2 separate regions of the Homo sapiens genome follow, and region 1 is linked to region 2. Evidence: promoter capture Hi-C in human tissues and cell types (Jung and others, 2019). All regions are on one chromosome and are shown on one strand. Each heading gives the region's core, a stretch centred on a gene start or on the middle of the fragment in contact. The rest is flanking DNA. Distances are from core to core; before and after follow the strand shown. Region 1 overlaps GULP1 (GULP PTB domain containing engulfment adaptor 1). Region 2 holds the start of GULP1 (GULP PTB domain containing engulfment adaptor 1).

Region 1 (4,834 bases), core at 1,901-4,400, 150 kb before region 2:
AATTTTATATTGGGACCTTTCTACAGTTAAGTTTAGCATTTGAATGACATGTGAAAGAAGCTTTAACAGTTATCCTCTCTGCCCTCAGGCTGATGCAAAATGACTGCTACAGCTTCCCAACAATAGATTTGTTTTTATCTAATGAACACTGTGAATCATGTTTCTTTATCTGGTCTGGCTGTTAGAAATATTAGAACCACATTTGTGGCCCAATTTTAGCAAATGTGATAGATCTCCAGTATATGCATTTTGTAATAAACCAGCTCTTTTTAGTTTTACTTTTCAAAAAATGTATCTCCTCTCTGTTATTTCCTCACTTTTGAATTATTTAGATGTTTTGGTGGTACTCTATTTTGGAAAAATATAGGATATGCATAAACGAATAAGGTTTAAATGATTTCCCTTTTCTATTGTCTGGTACTACTTGATGTAAGGCAGTTTCATTTAATTAATGCTTTTCCTGCATCACCTTACTCATAAAAAATGATCAGTGTAGGCTGTCTCTGATATTTTACTTCCCATTTTGATTTTTTTCATGATGAAAAGCATATTGCAAATTTTGAGAAAAAGAGAGATATAGAAAGATAAAATTAAGGCGTCCTCCCCACAGTCTAATTAGTATTCCCCTCACCACATCTCCCAGTTACCTCCTACCACCAGAGTCATGTCCTTACCACTGATAGCAATTTGGTGTATAACATTACAGAACACACAAACAAATACGCATACACACACACACCAGTAGCATGTGTGTATATGTGTACACACATGCATAGTCTTTTTCTCACATCTCACATTTTTAAAGGCCAATTACCATTCCATTGTGTGGATACATTATAATTTATTTAACCAAACAATAGATATTCAGGTATTGGAGATACAGAAAGAATGCTGTAAATGACATTCTTATACATATATACGTCTTTGTCTGCTTATGTATTTTGGTAGAATTTTTTTTCTTCTAACTTTAATTTAATGGTTCTAATTTGCAACCAGACAGGAATTTAGAAAATTATGATGATTAAAATGCCATACAAAATGAAAAATGTTCTTTAAGGTTTCTTCATTTGTAAAATTGATGTTTTAAATTTTAATCTTTATGAAATCCATCCCTTTCCAACTCCAACAGCTCTTACTTTCTCTGAATTTACTTTTCTCTGGAATGTTGAGATTATCAGCTAACCAAGACTTCTAAACATTTATTGAATAACAATAGTTGGTAGAAATATGCTCTCCTGGAAATAAGAAAAAGAATTAAATATGGTTTCCGGAGAAGAGTACAATTTAAAATGATAAATTAATAATATTCCTAATTTAACAAACAATTCATAGAGAGTTCTTTTTTAAGAAAGGATTGGTTCCAAAACTTTTAAATGCAACTAGATATTTATACATTTCTGGAACATATATAGTATATAAGTGAAGGCATTTCTCTTTTATATTATGCAACACAGTTTATTGTTACAGACATGAAAACATACAAATCAATAATATTAAGCATTGTGTAAACTAATATAGTTCTCTAAGCAGCATATAGATTTATATTTATTTCAGTCTGAAAACATGTGTTTTAACTACTTTATTTCCTTTTGACTACTGATGTGTTTGGATTTTTTCATGCAAGTTTATTTTGTGCCTTCTTTACATTTTTTTTGTGATATATATATTCTATGTGGCAGACATATATAACATATATAGCAGGAGAACAAAGAATTGGGAATAATGCAATTAACCAGTAACAATGTAATAGGAAGTAAGAAATGACAGAAAAAAACAAAATTATTATAGATTTTTACTGTAATTATTAGACTATTAATAGAATAATTATATTAATAATTGTTATGTTAATATACTGATTATATAACTATTAATAATTTGGTAGTCATATATTATGTATTTGACATAATTATTAAAATAATTATATAATGTATCATACATAATATATGCTATACATGTGATATATCTATATCTATATATGTATATATCACACTCTTGATGTGACTTCATGAGGGCAAGCTTTGAAATTGGGCATGCGACTGCATTGGCCAATAAGATGTTGGAAGATGAAATGCAAGTGCAAGTTGGGGGCTGAAATGCATTTGCACAGCTGCTTTTTAATTCTGTTTGTCCTGGATAAGATTTTATATTAACCTTAGTCTTGGTTTCTCAAACCACAATAGAAGTATATATTAGAACTCCCATCACTGCGTTTGTATTTTTTATGTATTTATTTTTTAATGTTTTTAAACTTTTAATTTAGGTTCAGGGTGCACGTGTGGGTTTGTTATACTGGTAAACTCATGTCACAGAGCTCTGTTTTACAGATTATTTCATCACCGAGGCACTAAGCCAGGTACCTAACAGGTATTTTTTCTGATCCTCTCCCTCTTCCCACTCTCTACCCTCAAGTAACCCTGGTGTCTGTTGTTCCCCTCTTCGTGTCATGAGTTCTCATCATTCTGCTTCTACTTATAAGTGAGAATATGCGGTATTTGGTTTTCTGTTCCTAAGTTAGCTTGCTAAGGGTAACAGCCTCCAGCTCCATCCATATTCCCCCAAAAGACATGATCTTCCTTTTTATGGCTGTATAGTATTCCATGCTGTATATGTACCACATTTTCCTTATACAATCTGTCACTGATGGGCATTTAGGGTGAGTCCATGTCTTTGCTATTGTGAATAGCACTGCAATGAACATTCACATGTACGTGTCTTTATGGTAGAATGATTTCTATTACTTTGGATGTATACTCAGTAATGGGGTTGCTGGGTTGAATGTCTTTTCTTTGAACTCAGAACTACTAAACATTATTTTAAAGAATACATTTTTTAAAAATCTCATTTTTAAAAAAGTATTTTACACTGATGTAACTTACAAGTCCAAGTACTTTGATTGCCAAACAAATACTGAAGCCAAAGTGGGAAAAGAAATGCTTTTTCACCTCTAAATAGAACAAACAGATGATCGCAATGTATAATCAATTCTAACTTCAGCTTGATATGTACAACTGCCAATTAGATCGTTTGGGCTCTGAATTTTAAAGAGCCTGAAAGAGCATTTGCAAACACAATGAAAAAATTTAGATTTTAATACTCTTCATTCCTTGGACACAAAATGTAACCTGGAAAGCATAAGTGTTAACATTTCTATGAAAGATTCAGGGACATTTCTGCAAGATATTCATCCTATCAGTAAACAGATATTAGCATATAATATGAAAAACATAATTTGATAGTTTTCACATACTAAAAACAAGGACATATTAGAAAAGTTGTCCTACCAGAACTGATATGGTAAAGCTAATAAAAGAAGATAGAACTATAGTGGATAATGCTGTGGTCCAGGTAAGTGATAACATTATGTTAGTTTATTGCAGAACAGCTGCATTTTATTGTTTTTATGTATGTGCCAAGTGCAAAAGATCTATGGATAGAAATAGAGATATACAGCACCTATTAAAATAGTTCACTATCTAAAAAGTGGTTTCCAAAATGTTTTCTTCATGAACACTGTATGTGAAAAATGTTTGAGCATGTGCCCCAAAATATGTACAAATTAATATATTCTTACAGAACACATATTATACTCAATTTAAAACTATATGTATAAACTACCTGTTAAATTAGTGCACATATTATGAAATATAGCTGAAAATATAAGTCAAAAGTTAAAAAATAAAAAATAACTTTTAATACAAATTTTAATGTCTCTTTTTTCCTTGAATTTCCTGTAGGGATCCATGTTTGCCAGTTTAGAAATCAAGGGTCAAAGAATATAGATAATAAAATGTACTAATTGCTATAATGGAGACATGAACATGTTTCTATAATGAGAACTTGGGAGGATCAGCTAAATCAGTGAGGAAAGTAATTTTAAATCAAAATGATGAGAGACTGAGGACCTATACTTTGATATCGGAATATCATACCTATGATGCTGTAGTGTCTTTTGTTACTATTGTATTACTTCCTATTAAATTGTGTTAATATACAAAACTTTAATTAAAGGATTTTAGGGAAAGGTAATCATGATGGCTAGTTTGTGAATTCCTCCATAATAAAAGATAATACAACCAGAATAGCAAAACAAACAAACAAACAAAAACAGGAACAAAATCTACAACAAAAATAGGTGGCAAGCTGTGATGGTTGGATTTTAAAATGGACCCCAAGATCCTTGCCCACCTGGTGTACACACCCTGTACAATCTCTCCCCTTGAGGGTGGGAAGGACCTATGCATATAATGGAATATCAAAGCCAGGATTACCTTAAGTTACATGGTAAAGATGGAGAGGTTTTGTAGATATAATTAAGGTCTCAAAACAGTTGATTTTGAGTTAATTAAAAGAGAAATTAACATGCGTAGACCTGGCTTAATCAAGTGAGATTCATTAAAAGAGGGACTGGGCCTTTTTAAAGAAAAGAGATTCTTCTGGCCTTGTAGAAGGAAAGAGCCATGTTAAGAACTGCCTATGGAGAGATCCCAGTCTTTGCCTAACATTAGAGACTACAAAAAGTACAGCCTTTGTCTCTCCTTTAACAGCTTTGAAGAAGCATCCTGCCATAAATTGTGCAGCTGCATGCAAGGAAATGAATTCCGACAACCTGAGGGATCTCTGAAGCAGATTCTTCTCTAGTAGAGTCCACAGATGAGAATACAGCCCAGAAAACTCCTTTATTTCAGCCTGGTGATACCCTACGCCAAGGACACAGGTATGGTAAGTCTATGGGACTTCTGACACACAAAAAATGTGAAGTAATAAATGGCTGTAATTTTAAGCAGCCAAGTGTATCATGTGGCATAGAATTTGTTATAAGACATAGGAAATTAAT
Region 2 (4,931 bases), core at 1,238-3,737:
TTTATCAGGATCACTTTTGATAAGCACAAAGAAGTCATGCCGGATACGTTTCTACTTTAATTCCATGACCCAAATCCATGCTAGCTGAGAATACGTAATTGAATTATTCAATTTAGGTAGAAAACCATCTGCTCAAACCCTTAAGTCTTCAATTCTTGCTGCTATGAAAACAAAGTAAGGCCGAAGTCAAGGAATTGAAGTTGCAGCAAACCTCGTCCAAGGAGACAAACAGCAACAAAGTGTGGGCATTTGCAAAGTATGATCAGCACAAACAGCATCAGGCCCCCAGCTATTCCACTGCAACACTGATAAGGAAAGTTCAGACTTTGCTCCTGGAGCCCTTTTTGTAATTTCCTCGGTCATATCCAACTGCACTCTATGCTTAGTTTATTTTTTTGCCAAGAAGACTGATCTTAGCCACCTAAAAATTCTCATTGCAAAAGAAACCTCTTGTTTAAACCCCAAGTGCAACCGACAGCCCCTTTCCAATTAGCCCCTGCAACTTGCCCAGTCTCTTTCATGCCTGGCTACTGAGCTCAGTCTAGTTTGGCTGCCGGCCAGGTTCCTCTCTTTTTTTCCTTGTCAGTCGTAAAAACTTGGAAAACACTCCTGGACAGCTCAAGGAGACCTTTAATTATGCAGTGGGGCAGTACCTTAGCCTGTCTGCTGTTTCCAGCAAAGCCTGTAGTCACCAGCGACTGCACTCTCCCAATTTGTGGGTTTTCCAGCCAAGGCTACTTGTTCATATGGGGGGAAAAGGGAAAGACTGGCAGAGAAAGGGAGCAATTTGCAAATTTGAAGAATTTCCAATTCCTCTGAAAGTTTTCCACTTCCTCACATTCACTCTGTCTAATAATCTCCCTTACTTTAGCACCTAATCACCCATTTTGTAATACAGACACAAAATCATCAGTATTGTCTCCTGCTAGTCCTAGAAATCAGTCATGACTTGAACATTCTCCGTAACTTTTTATTCTCAAATGTTGGTGTAACGTATTTTAAAAGCAGGCACAAAATAAATTTATTAAATCCTTCCTAATTGACTGCATTACACTTTGTCAAACTTGCAGATTGAAATAGTGCATGTAAAATGTCTGATTGCAAATGAGTAAGGCGAGCTCAGTTGGGAAACACTACTAGGACCTAGGGAGGGGTACCTTGACTGCCAGCCCTCACTTACTTGGAGTTTGCCCAGCGTACCAAGTGGACCCGCCAAGCCCAACACCAGCTAAGTCTTCCTTACTCTACCTTGGCACGCTAGTTCCAGCTGCAGCGTCCAGCTTCCTGTTCAAGTCCCATTCAACATCGTAAACACATTCCAAGAAAACCAGCCTGCCCAGAGTTCCCTCCCGCACACAGGGAAGTCAGCGCGGCAGCCGCAGGAGCCTCAGAATAGAGAGAACTGCCTGCTCCGGATTCTGATCCGTGTGGCGAGTGAGGCCACGAGAAGGTGGACCCGGCCAAGCGAATTTAGCAGTCGGAGCGAGAACCCAAGGGCTCATCACCCCCGCCGCGCCTTGCGCCCTCCAGAAGAAGCTACTTGACCCGCGCAGCAGAAGGGTAACCATGTGGACGCCGCCCCTTCCTTTGGGCCCTCCCAGCTCTGAGCTTTAAAGTATCCGCGGCCCGGCCTCGGAGCTTCGCGCCTCCCCACCCCCATGCCCACATTCTCTCCCAGCGCCAACAAAAGGGAGGCTGCCCTGGAAGTTCGCTCCTGGGTCGCCTCGCTGTGACCCGACGATGACTTGCCTGCTCAGCCCAGTCTGATCCACGCACCCTCAGCCGGACGGATCCACGGTTTCCCCACCGCCTCCCTCCAGTTCCTGCTCACCGGCCCCCCGCCGCCGGACCAAAGTTACCACAAAAGGCTAAGGAGGTTTCTGGAGCCCGGAGACCGCTGCGTCCCCGACCTCGCTGGACTCCCCCAGTCATTTCTCAAGCGCTGCCATAGCAGGCGTCAACAGGTCTTAGCCTCCTTTAGTGCTGGACGACTCCCTGAGCATTTAGCTGTCCTAATTTTTTACAACCTGCTGGCCAGCGGCTACGCGCAGCCCCGCGCCCTCCTTCCCGGGCACTGGTGGCCGGAGCTGTCCACCCCCACCGCCCCTCGGGATATCAGCTTCTAAGCGATTCCACGCTACCTGGAGGGAGCCTGGGTTCGCAGCCAGGGAAGAGCCTAGATAAATCTCCGTACCTCACTGAGAGAGGCAGTCGGGTCAGGCTTCGGGCAGGGGCGTGGAGAGCTGCCGGTTCCTCCGAGCCTGGCGATCTCCACTCCGGCACGGCCGGGGCGCCGTCTCCGAGGCCGAGAGGGAAAGTTTCTCTACGCCAACACGGCGCTGGACTCGGGACCCTCCAGCTTCGGTCCCCTCCCTCTTCGCGCTCTCTCCCCCCTCCCTCCTCTTCCTAATCCGCCGAATCCAAAACTGGCGCTGGCGGCAGCTGGGACGCGGGGCTGGGGACTCCGGGTCGCTCCCGGCCGGGAACGCCGGGCTCCCCCTCTCGGTGAGAAGGAAACTCTAGCCGACTCCGGCTTGCGCACTTCTGGCGGTCTCCTTGGACATTTCCACACGGGACGCCTGTGTTCAAGCTCGCTGACTTTCCTTCTTTAATCTCTGATGGTCGTTATCTGTGGGCCCACTGGACTATCTCGCGCGTGCACGCGGAACCGGAGGTGGGTGGAGGGTGGAATGAGAGAGAAACCCATCCGCAGAAGGAGGGGCCCTACCTTACTCAGTCTTCAGCCCGGACAGAAGCAAAACCACAGGCCCCCTCTCCCACCCCACTCGCGCCGCGTTTCCTTTCCAGCCTCTTCCCTGAGACACTAGATCAGGACCATTTGCCTTTTCTTATCTCTGTGTGTTTCCTAACACAATTTTAAAACACCTCTGAGGCTTCATAGAGGGGTAAAGTGTCAAAAGAAATACACGAATAAGAGTAAAACGTGCCGTCTTCACAGCCTTTATCAAGAAAGCAGCCACAGTTGCTGCTGCTCTGGCCGCACCTCAGCGGACTGGTTTGTCCTCATTGGTTTGTCCTCATTTGTTTTTTAACTCGGCCTTAATCTCTGGACTTTGTTATGCCTTAAAACAGACACACACATACACACACTTGAAAATTGCCTTAACCCCCAGATCATACTCATTTGTTCCATTCAGATGTTTACCTCGGAATTAAGGACTTCTGTATAGGATTTGAGAGAAAACACAACAGCCCATTCTTACTGACCTTTGGTAAAGTTCTGCGTGGGAAAGGGAGCAAGAAGGAGTATCCTTATATAAGAAGTTCTTCAAGGATGAGAGGACCTTTACTAAAATTTTTTCTGCTGCTCAGAATTTAGTTTACTAAATTTTAGTTTGAGTGTGAAAATAGATGAGAAAAGGAAAAAGGCATTTTGCAAAGCTAGCAGTTATAATGTATTACAGTGGATCCAGGGCTTAGAGTCAGACAGGCCAGATTCCATTCCAAACTCCATCTTTACGCTTTCTGTGCCTACCAATTATAACTGTCAACAGGAATTCTATAATCTAGCTCACGGAGTCACAGTCACATTTACAGGAGTTAAAATAGAGTTGTGATAGGCGCAGAGAAAATACTCAATAAATATTTGGTTCTTATATCCCACCATGTTTTACTGTAATTAGGAGAGAGGGTGGTGCTAGAAATTTTCCCCCAAAGACCCTGTAACTGAATCAGTTTTCTTCTCCTTAATGCTTTTTCCATTTAAAAAGGCATCATTTCACAATTTTTGAAATGGAAACTATGTTTACAGATTAACTAGTTCCAGCTGAACTCCCTTATTTTAAATACAAGGTAACTGAAGTCTAGGGCTCTTAAGTGACTTTCCCCAAATCTCATGGTTTGGAGGTACTAAAGCTAATATCAGAAATCAGTCCTCATAATAACTTGGCTGGGGTCCTCTTTTAACTGTTTTTCTCTTTATCACAATAGTCAAGCACACATAAAAATAATTATATTAAAAATATTAATCTCAGGACAAATGCTAGTTTTTTTCTGTAAATAACTCTTAAGCAATTAATTTATGAACAATCATTAAAAATTAAATAATGTCATTTAGATGATCACTTGGTATCAATGTGATTATAAAAATAAAACAAATGGTAGTCCAGTATTTAGGAATAAGGAGGTTGATGAGATGAACGAATCCATGCTTACATTATATATTTACACATAGATATTTTGGGTTTTTTAGCCATAATATTAAAAGATTATAATAACTCTCGATTCCCAAGAATACATCAACATACCACTACAGTTGGCTGACCCTAGTTTGTGAACAACTAGATCAGTGTTCAGGACACACAATTCAACTTGAACAAGTTCAAGGCCAAAGAACAAAATCAGGCTACAGAGATCAAACTTTCCATCCTGTGAAATAATGGAAAATCCCATAGCATGTACTTATTTCTCATTCATTTGCCTCTAGTACCTGTAAGAAGGTCTTTTTAAAAAATTCTTCCTTACCATATACAATGTTGAAAATCATCTGAACATTTACATAACTAACTCCCATGTTCTCAGGGATGAGACCCTATATACTCCTTCTAAGTAAGAGTTATTTACTACTCCGGCCTCATCCTCAGTTTCCTAAAGGCATATCATAGCCTCTTTAGAGATCTGTCTTTCCTATCCATAAGACTTGGAAGATCCTAAAGAGGGAAAAAAAAATATGGCTACAAAGCACATCCATCATGAATGGATAAATGAAGATAGATGAGTCCTCATAACTGTCTTTTTCCAATCGTTACATACAGTGCTAAAGATTACTCACTTTTATATTTTCTCCCACTGTTTAAAGTCTTTAAACTTGCTATTGCTTTGTAATTTTTATAACCTGACTTTTGATATGATCTTCTTTGTGAAATGGCTTAGAGGTATAAAAATCTCAAGAGTGTCAGAACCAAGTTTTT

The links. The method cuts DNA at HindIII sites, captures the fragments that hold promoters and counts their contacts. A contact is called where the count stands out against the background at its distance.
Region 1: a fragment that was not itself captured here is called in contact with the fragment with the promoter of GULP1 in region 2 in 1 of the 25 tissues and cell types used here (IMR-90 fibroblasts).

The regions. Positions count from the first base shown.
Region 1 is chr2:188,435,492-188,440,325 of GRCh38, reverse strand. The region is part of intron 2 of GULP1 (GULP PTB domain containing engulfment adaptor 1); the gene reads right to left. Among named protein-coding and RNA genes, the nearest start is that of MIR561, 140 kb to the right of the region's middle. The HindIII fragment of the contact is 4,224 bases long and covers 1,039-4,834 here.
Region 2 is chr2:188,289,430-188,294,360 of GRCh38, reverse strand. GULP1 (GULP PTB domain containing engulfment adaptor 1) reads right to left here and starts at 2,487. Exons shown (of 12, transcript NM_016315.4): 1 at 2,195-2,487. RefSeq lists an enhancer at 1-635. The HindIII fragment of the contact is 13,352 bases long and covers 1-4,931 here.